Linked DNA regions of Homo sapiens: region 2 is linked to region 1. Evidence: promoter capture Hi-C in 16 types of primary human blood cells and fetal thymus (Javierre and others, 2016). All regions are on one chromosome and are shown on one strand. Each heading gives the region's core, a stretch centred on a gene start or on the middle of the fragment in contact. The rest is flanking DNA. Distances are from core to core; before and after follow the strand shown.

Region 1 (5,866 bases), core at 3,367-5,866:
CTGGCCCTCTGATAATTAAACTCTTTCTCTGCTCCAAAAACTGTTGCTCTCAATGCATTGGCTTTTCTAGGCAGCAGGCAAGAAGAACCCATTGGGCTGTTACAGCACTTCCAGAGGTAGTCTAATAACTCCTCTCCAAAAAGTCATTTTGGTGGAGAGGTGGAGCAAGATGGCCAAATGGAAGCCTCCAGGAATTGCCCCCGACATAGGAACAACAAATTGAACAACTATCCACCCAAAAAAGAACCTTCATAAGAACCAAAAATCATGTGAGCAATCACAGTACCTGGTTTTAACATCATATTAAGGAAAGAGGCACTGAAGAGGGTAAAAAAGGCAGTCTTGGATTGCCTACACCACCCCTTCCACATCCCCCAGCAGTGGCCACATGGCATAGAGAATCAGTGTGCTTGCGGAAGGGACAGGGCAGTGATTGCAGGGCCTTGCATTGGAACTCAGTGCTGCCCTGTCACAGTGAAAAACAACACTGGGCAGAAATCAGCCAGTGCCCAGAGGGAGCATGTAGATGAGCCCTAGCTAGAGAGGAGTCATTCATCCAAGCAGCCAGAACCTGAGTTCTAGCAGGCCCAGCTACCGTGGGCTAAAGTGCTCTGGGGGGGTCCCAAATAAACTTGAAAGGCAGAATAGGCCAAAAGAACTACAATTCTTGGGCAAGTTCTGTTGCTGGGCTTGGAGCCATTGGGCTTAGAATGTACATGACCTAGTGAGATGCTAGCCAGGGAGGCCAAGGGAATGCTTGCATCACCCTTCTCCAAGCCACAGGCACTGCTGCTGACAGTACTGGGAGAGACTCCTTCCCACCACTTGAGGAGAAGAGAGGGGAGAGTAAAGAAGACATTGTCTTACAACTTGAATACCAGCTCAGCCACGGTAGAACTGTGCACTAGGGGGAGGCCCCCATTTCATGCCCTAGCCCCCACATGAAATTTCTAGAGACACCCTGGGCCAGAACGGAACCTGTTGCCTTAAAGGGAAGAGCCCAGGCCTGGCAAGATTCATCACTTGCTGACTAAAGAGACTTTGGGCTTGAATAATCAGTAGTAGTAGCCAGCCATGCTGGCTTCAGGTGTGGTGGCTTCAGGGGAGAGACTCCTATTTGAGGAAAGGAGAGGGAAAAGTAAGGAGACTTTGTCTTGCGACTTGGATACCAGCTCAGCTACTGGGGAGTAGGGCACCAAGCAGGCTCCTGGAGTCCCTGATTCCATGCCTTGGCTCCTAGACAGCATTTCTGGACATGCCCTGGGCCAAAGAGGACCCCACTGCCCTGAAAGGAGAAACTCGGGACTAATAGCATTTATCACAAGCTGACTGAAGAGCCCCTGTGCCTTGAGTGAATGTTGGCATAGCCAGGAAGTACTAGCCATGGGCTAGTGCAATGGTGGTCATGGGGAAGGACTTTGATGCTTGAGGAAAGAGGAGGGAAGAGTGAGAATAACTTTATCTTGTGGTTTGGGTGCCAGGTCAGCCACAGTGGAATAGAGTACCAGGTAGATTCCTAAGGTTCCCGACCCCAAGCCCTGGCTTCCAGACAGCATCTCTGGACCTACTTGAAGATGGAGAGAACTTGTTGCCCTGATAGGAAGGACACAAGGCTGGCTGAATTCACCAGCTTCTGAATGCAGGCCTTGAGGAAACATAAGCTACTGTAGCTAGACAGTGGTCACTGCAAGCCTTGGACCAGACCCAGTGCTATGTTGGCATCAGGTCTCTCCTAGCACAGTCACAGTGGAGGCAGCCACAAGGGTGCTTGTGTCACCTCTCCCCTAGCTCCAGACAGCTCAGTGCAGAGACTCCATTTGTTTGGGTGAAAGTAAGATAAGAGAACAGAGTCTCTGCCTGGTAATCCAGGTAATTCTCCTGGATCTTACCCAAGACCACAAATGTCATACCCCTACAAGTCTGCAAAAGCTATAGTTTTACTGAGCTTCGGATGGCCCCTAATGCAGATATAGCTGCAGTGACCAAAGACTTAGATCACAACACCCAAGTCCCTTCAAATACTTGGAAAGCCATCCCAAGAAGGGTGGATACAAAAAAATAAAAAGCCCAGACTGTGAAGACAATAATAAATACCTAACTCTTCAGTGCCCAGACACCAACAAAAATCCACAAGCATCAAGACCACCCTGGTAAACACGACCTCACCAAACAAACTAATGAAGGCACAAGTGACCAATTCCAGAGAGAAAGAGATATGTGACTTTTCAAACAGAGAATTCAAAATAGCTGTGTTGAGGAAGCTCAACAAAATTCAAGATAACACAGAGAAGAAATTCAGAATTCTACAAGATAAATTTAACAGAGATTAAAACAATTAAAAAGAATCTAGCAGAAATTCTGAAGCTGAAAAATCCAATTAACGTACTAAAAAATGCAGTCCCTTACAGGCAGAATTGATCAAACAGAAGGAAGAATTAGTGAGCTTGAAGATGGGCTATTTGAAAATACACACTCAGAAGAGACAAAAGAAAAAAGAATAAAAATGAATGAGGTACACCTATAAGATCTAGAAACTGGCTTCAAAGGGCAAATCTAAGAGTTACTGGCCATAAAGAGGAGCTAGAGAGAGAGATCAGGGTAGAAAGTTTATTCAGCGAGATAATGACAGAGAACTTCCCAAACCTAGAGAAAGATATCAATATTCAAGTACAAGAAGGTTATAAAACACCAAGCAGATTTAACCCAACGAAGACACCCCAAAACATTTAATAATCAAACTCCCAAAGATCCAGGATAAAGAAAGAATCCTAAAAGCAAGCAAGAGAAAAGAAACAAATAACATAAAAAGGAGTTCTAATAAGTCTGGCAGCAAACTTATCAGTGGAACTTTACAGGCCGGGAGGGAGTGGCATTACATATTTAAAGTGCTGAGGGAAAAAACTTTTATCCTAGAATAGTACATCCAGTGAAAATATCCTTCAGATGTGAGGGAGAAATAAAGACTTTCCCAGGCAAACAGAAGCTGAGGGATTTCATCAACACCAGACCTGTCCTACAAGAAATGCTAAAGGGAGTTCCTCAGTCTGAAAGAAAAGGACATTCGTAAGCAATAAGAAACCACCTGAAGGTACAAAACTCACTACTAATAGTAAGTACACAGAAAAACACACAATATTATAATACTGTAATTGTGTGTAAACTGTTCATATCTTGAGTAGAAAGACTTAGAGATTAACCTAACTTATCAAAAATAATAGCTATAACAACTTTTCAAGACATAGTATAATAATATATAAATAGAAACAAGAAAAAGTTTTAAAAGTGGGGAGAGTGAAGTTAAAGTGCAGAGTTTTTCTTAGTTTTCTCTTTGATTTTTGTTTATGCAATCAATGTTATGTTGTCATCAGTTTAAAACAATGGGTTATAAAATATTATTTGCCCTGGGCGTGGTGGCTCACACCTGTAATCCCAGCACTTTGGGAGGCCGATGCGGGTGAATCACCTGAGGTCAGGAGTTCGAGACCAGCCTGACCAAATAGTGAAACCCCATCTCTACTAAAAATACAAAAATTAGCTGGGCGTGGTGGTTTGCTCCCGTAGTCCCAGCTACTTGGGGGGCTGAGACATTAAATGGCGCCACTGAAGAAGAATGAATAAGGTCTAGTAATACAACAGGGTGACTACACTCAACAATAATTTATTGTACATTAAACAAACTAAAAGTATAATTGGATTGCTTGTAACAGAAAAAAAGGATAAATGCTTGAGGTGATGGATAGACCGTTTACCCTGATGTGATTATTATACATTGTATGCCTGTATCAAAATATCTCATGTACCTCTTAAGTATATATATATATTTACCTACTTCGTACTCATAAAAATTTTAAAAGGTACATAAATGTTATCATTGCATCCTCTTAATTTTATTTTTCAGTTCCAGAGGGATAATCCTGTCTCTGCCGCAAATGCAGCACCTTCCTCAGTCTTGGGGCGTCCATCAAGCGGAGAGCTGGAATGTGACTGAAAGTAACAGAGTATAGGTGGAACTAGAACAAGGTCACGAGCTGGTGCCCAACTCGTGTAACTCCTGGTTCCAGGCTGTCCCTCTAGGATGCTGTTGGCGCCAGCCGTGGTAGTAGGACAGAGTCTGGGTAAAGGTCGCCTGCTGACAAGATGGTAGCTAGGAGACCTCTAGGTGCGCCAAAATTAGGGCGTCTTTTCCTGGACCGGCAAAACGCCCTGCTCAAAGCTCATTACATCACCACGCCCAAGAACTGATACTTTAGCAGGGCAACGCACCAACCAAGCGACTCCGCCCCACCCTCCCCGCTCCTCCAGCACACGCAAGCGCACAGAGGCCCGCGAGTGACGTCACCTCTCCCGACACCACCTCGTTGTCGTACGACCAAAGGCCTGTCGTAACGGCCGGGAAAAGCCTCGAGAAGAAGGGCACGCACGCCGTACACCCTAACATGCTCGCCAGCATGCGCGCGCAGGTCCTTGGCGCAGGCATTGGGACTGGAGCCAATGAGGTGCGGCGACGTTACTGCGTAGCCGCCAGCTCGGCCGCACGTCAGGGCGCGGGAGCGCGGAGCGAGTTTGGTTGCACTTACACCGGTACTTAAGCGCGGACCGGCGTGTCCTTGGACTTAGAGAGTGGGGACGTCCGGCTTCGGAGCGGGAGTGTTCGTTGTGCCAGCGACTAAAAAGAGGTGAGAGCGGGTCGCGGAGGCCGCACCTGGTTAGAGGCAGAGCTGTGGGAGGCGCGCACTTGCGAGCGACCGAAACCCAAGCGGGGAGCATTCGAGTGGAGCCCGCGCTGGGTGGGAGGGCGGGGAGTGAAGACCCTGGACTGTGGTCAGACCGAGCTGGGCGAGTAACGGCTTGAGGTGCGGCGGAGCCCTAACTAGGGACAGGTATGGTCTCGGTCAGGGACTGGAGGCGGCTTGGATACAGATCCGAGGAGGAGGCGGCCTCTTCCGTAGTGGTTGCTGAAGGGCTATGGAAATGATAGGCAAGACTTCCCTCCTGGAAAGCCGAAGCTTAGAGCTTCACGTTCTTCTTCAGAGGGCAAAAGCTGTTGCTCTTCTAATAAGGGGCCAGTTCTTTTCGTGGGCACATGTTTCTTCCGTCAGTCGTTCTGACATCCTAGAAGGAGTTTCATCAATCACCTTGAAACCGACCTGGACGGGTGACCTCGTGGTCGCCCCAGGAGATCACAGGTAGGGGAGTTGGGATGTCCCCGGGGGACCGTGCAGCCTGCCCCTGAGCTCCCATTCACAAGTTCGAGTGTCAAGCTACTCCTGTGACCTGGGCAGATAGAAACAGCCAGGACCGCTTTTTAAACATTTGTGTGCTTTGCGTTATCCTCAGGGAGAGGTGGCTTTACATTGTAGTAAGATTAAATGGTTAGGTCTTTTTAAAAGTTGCGGTTGTGGTGATTTTGGCTTAATGTGTTCGCCCTTGAGCTTCAGATCTGTGACTTCGTGACCATGATTGTCTCTTCTGAAACTGGAGTTTGAATTAGGTTCCCTCTTTGCTTGGGCTTTAACGTTCCTTCACGTATACACACAAAAATACGTTTTTGAGGAGGTACTCCTAAAAATGTTTTTGGTATTAAAGAATATTTGGTATAAAGAGTATTAAAGCAAAACAAGATTCATTCTGGTATTTAATGACATAAATTAGCAATGGATTGGTAATTAAGTGGCTAGAGTGGTCATTCATTTACACTGTATTTGTTACCTGAGGAAAAATTTACTAAGTTGAAGCTTTCGTTTTTAGAATTAAATATGGGTGATGTTGAGAAAGGCAAGAAGATTTTTATTATGAAGTGTTCCCAGTGCCACACCGTTGAAAAGGGAGGCAAGCACAAGACTGGGCCAAATCTCCATGGTCTCTT
Region 2 (5,866 bases), core at 2,150-4,649, 3.1 Mb before region 1:
TTAACAGATGTCCACACAGGACACAGGAAGTGCACGGTTTTGATTATCAGTGTATGCCAAAATAAACCAATTCCTGTATGTGGAGGACAGACAGCTGTATGAAGCAGGATCCTCAGTGTCTTCAGTTGGCTCCATTAGACCAGTGGATTCACACCTTCCGGCAGCTGCCCCATCTCGAGGGCACTGGACATGCTGGATTTGGGGAGACTGTTATGCGATCTCAAACCATTTGTAATGCTAAGTACCATATTATGGGGCCACTGCACATCCATACTTTGTGCCTATACATTGGGAGGCACTGGGCTCTGGGGAGAGACAGATGGTTTTCAAGAAAAGGCTCTTAAACCCAGAGAATGCTTCTTGTCTACAGCCACTGTCATATCATTCTGACTTCTCAGTTCCCTCACTTTCCCTCTCCTTTCAAATATTTTTACTTTCCAAATCAGACAGATGTTTTTTGCCAGTACAGAGGTATATCAGTCATCACCTTCTCTCTCGGATGTAATAAGTTGAATTGTTTGTTTTATATATTTTTGTAGCTTAGATGTTGACTTTATCTAAAGGGATATCCTGGAAACAAACATTTTAAAAATATAAGTACAGAAAGGTAAGCATGCTATTAGCAATTTTTAAAAAACTTTGCCTGTGGTTACTATCTATATATAATTTGTCCTTCTATTGTCTATCAATGCCTTCTAAATGCACCATGAGTACAGAGAAAAAAACTGTCTGTGTGCACCTGGGAGAACTTGCTTGATGCCCCGGCCTCAGTTTACCACATCTCCAAAACCAGTGGTTCTGACAGCCAGAGTATCTTCCAGGTCTAAGAGATCACAATCATGTATCTTATATAAAGACCGGAAATGCCTAGAGTGTACAGATTTTTAAAAAGTAGTATGAGCAGAACATCACATAAACAAAGCTTCAGTCACATATGAAGAAGTAGTAGGGTGGATTATTTTCAGGCAAAATGAACTGATTCCTTACAAAACAGTAATAATTATCCAAGGTAGAGAAAATAATTTTGTCTTAAAAACCAATATCTTGATTTACTTTGGAAGTTATTTTAGCTCACTTCATTTTTTAAAAAATCTATTTTTTTCAATTTGGTCTAGCAAGGTTTTATTTTAGGAATAGTGAAACTGACAGGAGGTAGTAGAAAGCCATGCATTAGTGAAACCCAGGCCCCTTACTTCCTTCATCTTTCACCTGCACATTTCTGGCACTTCCCATCTCGGAACTCTCTTGCCTGAACCACCTCTCCACACTCTTGGGAGTTAATAACTCCACGTAGACAATTTTTCCTCTGGAGGACAGAACTGCTACTTCTTCAAAGCTTTTGGGGCTCCCAGATGCTGCATAGTGGGGGTGCCTAACATTCATCTCTAAGGGTGGCTGTTTTGGCATCATTTTTGGCTGAAGTTTTGTATTGCATTTCCATGTCATTTGGTGTGGTGTGTGCCTGCCAGATATTCTGCCTGCTCTCAGCTGAAGGCCTTCCCAGATTGGGCAGCTGAATGTACTGCACAGCTGCCAAAATTCTAATTCAAGATCTAGAATTCTAACTCCTGCTCTTTAGACCCTTGTCTGGCCTTGGCCTCAGTCCCCTGCCAACTCGGTCCCTGGCTCATTATCAGGCCCACCAGGGCCCTGCCCCCACCCTCATTGGGCCCATGAAACCATTCTTGGCACCAAACTGAACTTCAAGACACAGCTGCCCCAGCCCCACCCAAGCCGAATCTCATCTCAGCAAGTTTGTCACCTTGTGAGCTGCAAGACAGAAGAGATGAGAAGAGAAAATGCCACCGGTGATGGTCAGATCATAAAACTTCCTGTAGCAACAGACATATTACATGTGCCTTTACTCTAAGCACTTACATGAAAAGCAAACAATCCCATTATTAGAAATAACACTAGACAGAGATGCATAGAGTTTATGGAGGGAGGAATACTATTTCTCCATGCATCTGCACCAGAGGGTAAGTGAAATTTGCCCTAAGGAAAAATGCTAAATTCAGTATGCATATATTAATATTAATAAAAAAAATGTACTGTTGGGTCATAAACTGCTGATAATGTGTAATATTTCTTAGACACCTGGAAAAGTGCTACTGGAAAATACACACTTTACAGAAGAAATATGACTGCAACTGGAGGAGGGGGTGGGGACAAGAAAGTAATTGATTCTCAGCAAAATGCTGGTTTTCAGGGAAGCTACTAAATTCACCTTAAGTGGTTACCTGGTCAACATTATGCTTTAAATGCTCACAGGATGAAATCGCTTCCTTTTTAAATGAAGAGTCACTATGTCCCTTGCCGTTGTTTCCGCTCCTTCTAGCCTTAACCAATGCACTGTCCTTTCTGCAGTGGCTGAAACGAGGATGGGTTAATTACCAGACCTGAGATGGTGGAGTGGGTGCAGTAGGGTGCTGTAATTTCGGGTGATGAAATTATTTTAGTTTTTGTTTTCCTAGAAGGAGCAGGGAGTATAAAAAACGTGGCACATATGTAAAACACAGGCAAATGCACTTGACAACCAAGCACTCTATTTTGAAATTTAAATAAAGCTAAGATTTTTTTCTGGCCTAGAGGGAAAGCTTCATTAAAATCAATTAGTTAGTACAAACCTCCGGAGAATGTGTACTTTTTCTAAAGAAGGTTTAAAGAAGAAGGTGCACACAATTACCTTTCCTGGGTCCCCTGTGAATGTGTCACACCTAGACAGGTGGCTGAGTACAAAAAAATGTCCCTGAGAGGGACCAGGGTAACTCCCTGAGTTCTCCTCGCAGGGAGGTAGGTGTAATTAATCGATGTGGGTGTATTAAGAACGTCATATACATAACCAAGGAGGCTCCAAACAGATGGCACGGATGGCAAGCCGTAAAGGGCAGGCCTAGCGAGATAAAGTTGGTGGCAGGGCTCGCAGGTGAGGCCTGGGTCCGCGCGCTGAGGTTGGGGCCGCACAGCTGTAGCCGCGCGCCCTGGTCCCTCCTCCCAGCTGCGGCGGCCTTCCCCCCCCGCCCCCGCCCCCGCCCTCCCCCCGCCGCTCCCGACGCCGCCGCCGCAGCCGCCGCCTCCCCTCTGCCTCCCGGTGGCTCCTCGCTCTCCTTCCATCTCTCTCGCCCCCTCTCCCTCCGTCCCGTCCTCGCCGCTCCCCTCACCCCGCCTCTCTCCCCCTCCCCCAGCCCCTCCTCTCCTCACCCCACCCGGCCTCCCTCCCTCCCTCGCCCGCCCGGCGCTCGCAGAGCCGACACCAGGGGGGCTCTCGATGTAGCACCATGACAGGCATCGCCGCCGCCTCCTTCTTCTCCAATACCTGCCGATTCGGGGGCTGCGGACTCCACTTCCCCACCCTGGCCGACCTCATCGAGCACATCGAGGACAACCACATCGGTAAATGGCCCGGGGGTGGGCGGGGGTGCCAGGCGCGCGGAAACTCCTGCCCGGGCGGGGAGCCCCGGAATGGCCAGGGGTGGCCGGCGGGGAGGGAGGCGGCAGGGCGGGGAGGGCGCGTGCGAGCCCCGAGGTGGGGGTGGCGGGATGCGGGGGCGCGAGGTGCCGGGGGGCGGGGAGCGGGCTCGGGTGGGGGAGGGGGCGGGCGCCCCGAGGTGCCGCGGGCGGGCGGGCGGGCGGCTGGGGGACTCAGGGGCGTGCACGCGGGCTGCGAAGTGGTGGGAGCGGGGAGCGCCGCGGCGGGGCGGCGGGGTTGCGGCGGCGGGGCCGAGTGCCGGCGCGCGGGGCGCGGGGCGGAGGGCGCGGCGGGCGGCGGGAGCTGGGCGCTGGGCAGGGTCGCGGAGTTAGTTGGCCCGGGTGGTCGGAGTAGCCCGAGGCGCTGAGGGCAGCGGGGGGCGGGCGCTGCACGCCGCCGGGCGCTTCCGCCCCGGCTCGAGCTGTCAGGGCTCGGCGGCGGCTGCAGCCGCGGGGAGGTGGAGCGGGGGGGCGGGGGTGGCTCCACCGCGGCAGCCATTCCGCTTCCTCCTCCCGCCGCCGCCGCCGCCACTGCGTCCTGTCAGCGCCGGTTGCTAGGTGTGGTGCGTCGGGAGGGGGCCGGGGCCGGCGGCCGCGGGCGGGGGCCGGGGAGCTTGCCCTCTCCCTGGGAGGCGGCCGAGGGGCCCGGGCGGGGCCGGGGACGCGGGCCCGGGGGCTCTGGGTGCCCTCCCCTGCCCCGGCCTGGCGCGGACGCCCGGGCGCTGCGGGCTGAGGTCTTGGGTGCGCCCGCGGGCCGCGCCCAGCGCCCCGGGGTCGACGCGCCCTGGAGGCCCCTGCGGCGGCGCCCGCTGGAGAGACACCCCCAGGGCCCATGGCCGGGCATTTAAATGCACCCCGGCTCTGCGATTTGCCTTTCTAATGGTGCTAGGCCCGAGGTGCGCTGGCTGCGCCCTGGGATCGGCGGCGGCCTGCGCAGCGCCCCGGGCCCGGGAGACGCCGGGGAGGGGGCGCCCCGCAGGGTGGCTGCTTTCCCTTCACGCCTGGACCCCTGGACCTTTCAACAAGTCCTCTGATTTGCAGAAGTCATTGCACACATTTTCACACTTCTATTCGGAACCCCTGCTAAGGGAGGTGGGCCGGGTGCATCTGGCTTAGGCGGTCCAACCACCTGCGGAAGGTGTGACCGACGCCAGCGAGTTGTCCTGCGTGGGCTAGAAGGTGAAGGGTCCGAGCGATGTCCCAATGGGGCTGTCTAATCCAGAGAACCTGTAAATTGCCCCCAGGAAGTCCAAATGAATGCCATGGATTCAGCCATGTGGATGCAGCTCACGTTTCTACAAAGTTGAGAGAATAAATCACGACTGCTGTGTATTTATGCAGGAATAAAATGAGGCAGAACCCTATGCTCCTTTGCTTAGTATAGTGCTGTCTCTGCACACAGTGGCTGCTTAATAAGTGTTGAATGCCTGTTTAGAATGTGATTTGATGGGCCATCCGGAATAGGAGATAATCATGGGAAACGTCTACAAAATGTCTTTCAGAGGAAAATGCTGTTGAGTAATTGTCCAGGTTTTGAAACTTTTCAAGTTTTCAGGCGTCCTTGTAATAGCTTCTTCCATTTCCTCTGCTAAAGGTATGACAGAAGAGCTGGGCAAGTTTTGGTAGTCTTAAAAGCAGTTTAATGGAGCAACCAATTTGCTGATTCATATCATGATTGAATAGTCATAACTGAAAGTGCTTGAAAGTATTAAATCAGATTTTTCATGATGGCTAGTTTAAAATAAAGCGAAAACACCGGTACTGTGAAGTTCTGGTAGAAATGTTACTAGTTCAAGTTCTTCCCCTTACTCCCAATAATAAGTAAAAAATAAATATAGATAATGCTATACATTAATATGTATGATATAAGTAATATAAATAAATAATTTCTCTTGACTTACAGAAGGCTGTCATTGCATATCCCATCCATTCTCGCTAACAGTTATTTCAGAATAAACTATAATTTATATAAGCTGAGTAATAATTTTACCCCATTGCCTACCTACTTAGACAAGCTGGTTAAAAGACAGTATAAATTATATTTATTAAAATGTGTTAAAGACAGTTATCCTTCTTGAGGATTTAGTTTGAGATGGTTTAAAACTTGGTGAATCATGAGGTTTTTTTTTTAAGTGTAGAAATTGTCTTAATATTTTGCACACATTTTTAAAGAAGGTTAAGAGTTTGATACGTTTTCTAAAACTCAGCTTTGAAGTAATGCTACCTCATTCCCAGAAGGCTAGTGTTGTCCTTTTAATAGTGAAAATGTGGAAAAATTAAGTTTACAGCAATAGCAGTGACCTAGGTGAACTGTGTTGCAGGGCTAACACAGTTGAAAACAGTTTGAACCAGCAAACTTTATGAAAAGCAAATGTTAAAATGAACAAACACTTGCAAT

What was found. The method cuts DNA at HindIII sites, captures the fragments that hold promoters and counts their contacts. A CHiCAGO score of 5 or more calls a contact.
Region 2: a contact is called between the fragment with the promoter of JAZF1-AS1 here and the fragment with the promoter of CYCS in region 1, in 3 of 17 cell types (naive CD8 T cells, non-activated CD4 T cells and total CD4 T cells). The highest score is 7.1, in naive CD8 T cells.

Annotation. Positions count from the first base shown.
Region 1 is chr7:25,124,010-25,129,875 of GRCh38, reverse strand. It overlaps CYCS (cytochrome c, somatic), which reads left to right and starts at 4,616. Exons shown (of 3, transcript NM_018947.6): 1 at 4,616-4,676; 2 at 5,749-5,866. The coding sequence starts at 5,757. It also overlaps a transcript of SPMIP4 not described here. RefSeq lists enhancers at 4,206-4,455, 4,603-5,146, 5,147-5,691. The HindIII fragment of the contact is 6,168 bases long and covers 1-5,008 here.
Region 2 is chr7:28,177,990-28,183,855 of GRCh38, reverse strand. JAZF1-AS1 (JAZF1 antisense RNA 1) reads right to left here and starts at 3,399. Exons shown (of 4, transcript NR_034097.1): 1 at 3,317-3,399. It overlaps JAZF1 (JAZF zinc finger 1), which reads left to right and starts at 3,061. Exons shown (of 5, transcript NM_175061.4): 1 at 3,061-3,393. The coding sequence starts at 3,279. RefSeq lists a silencer at 3,867-3,986 and enhancers at 3,841-4,340, 4,341-4,842. The HindIII fragment of the contact is 6,606 bases long and covers 2,600-5,866 here.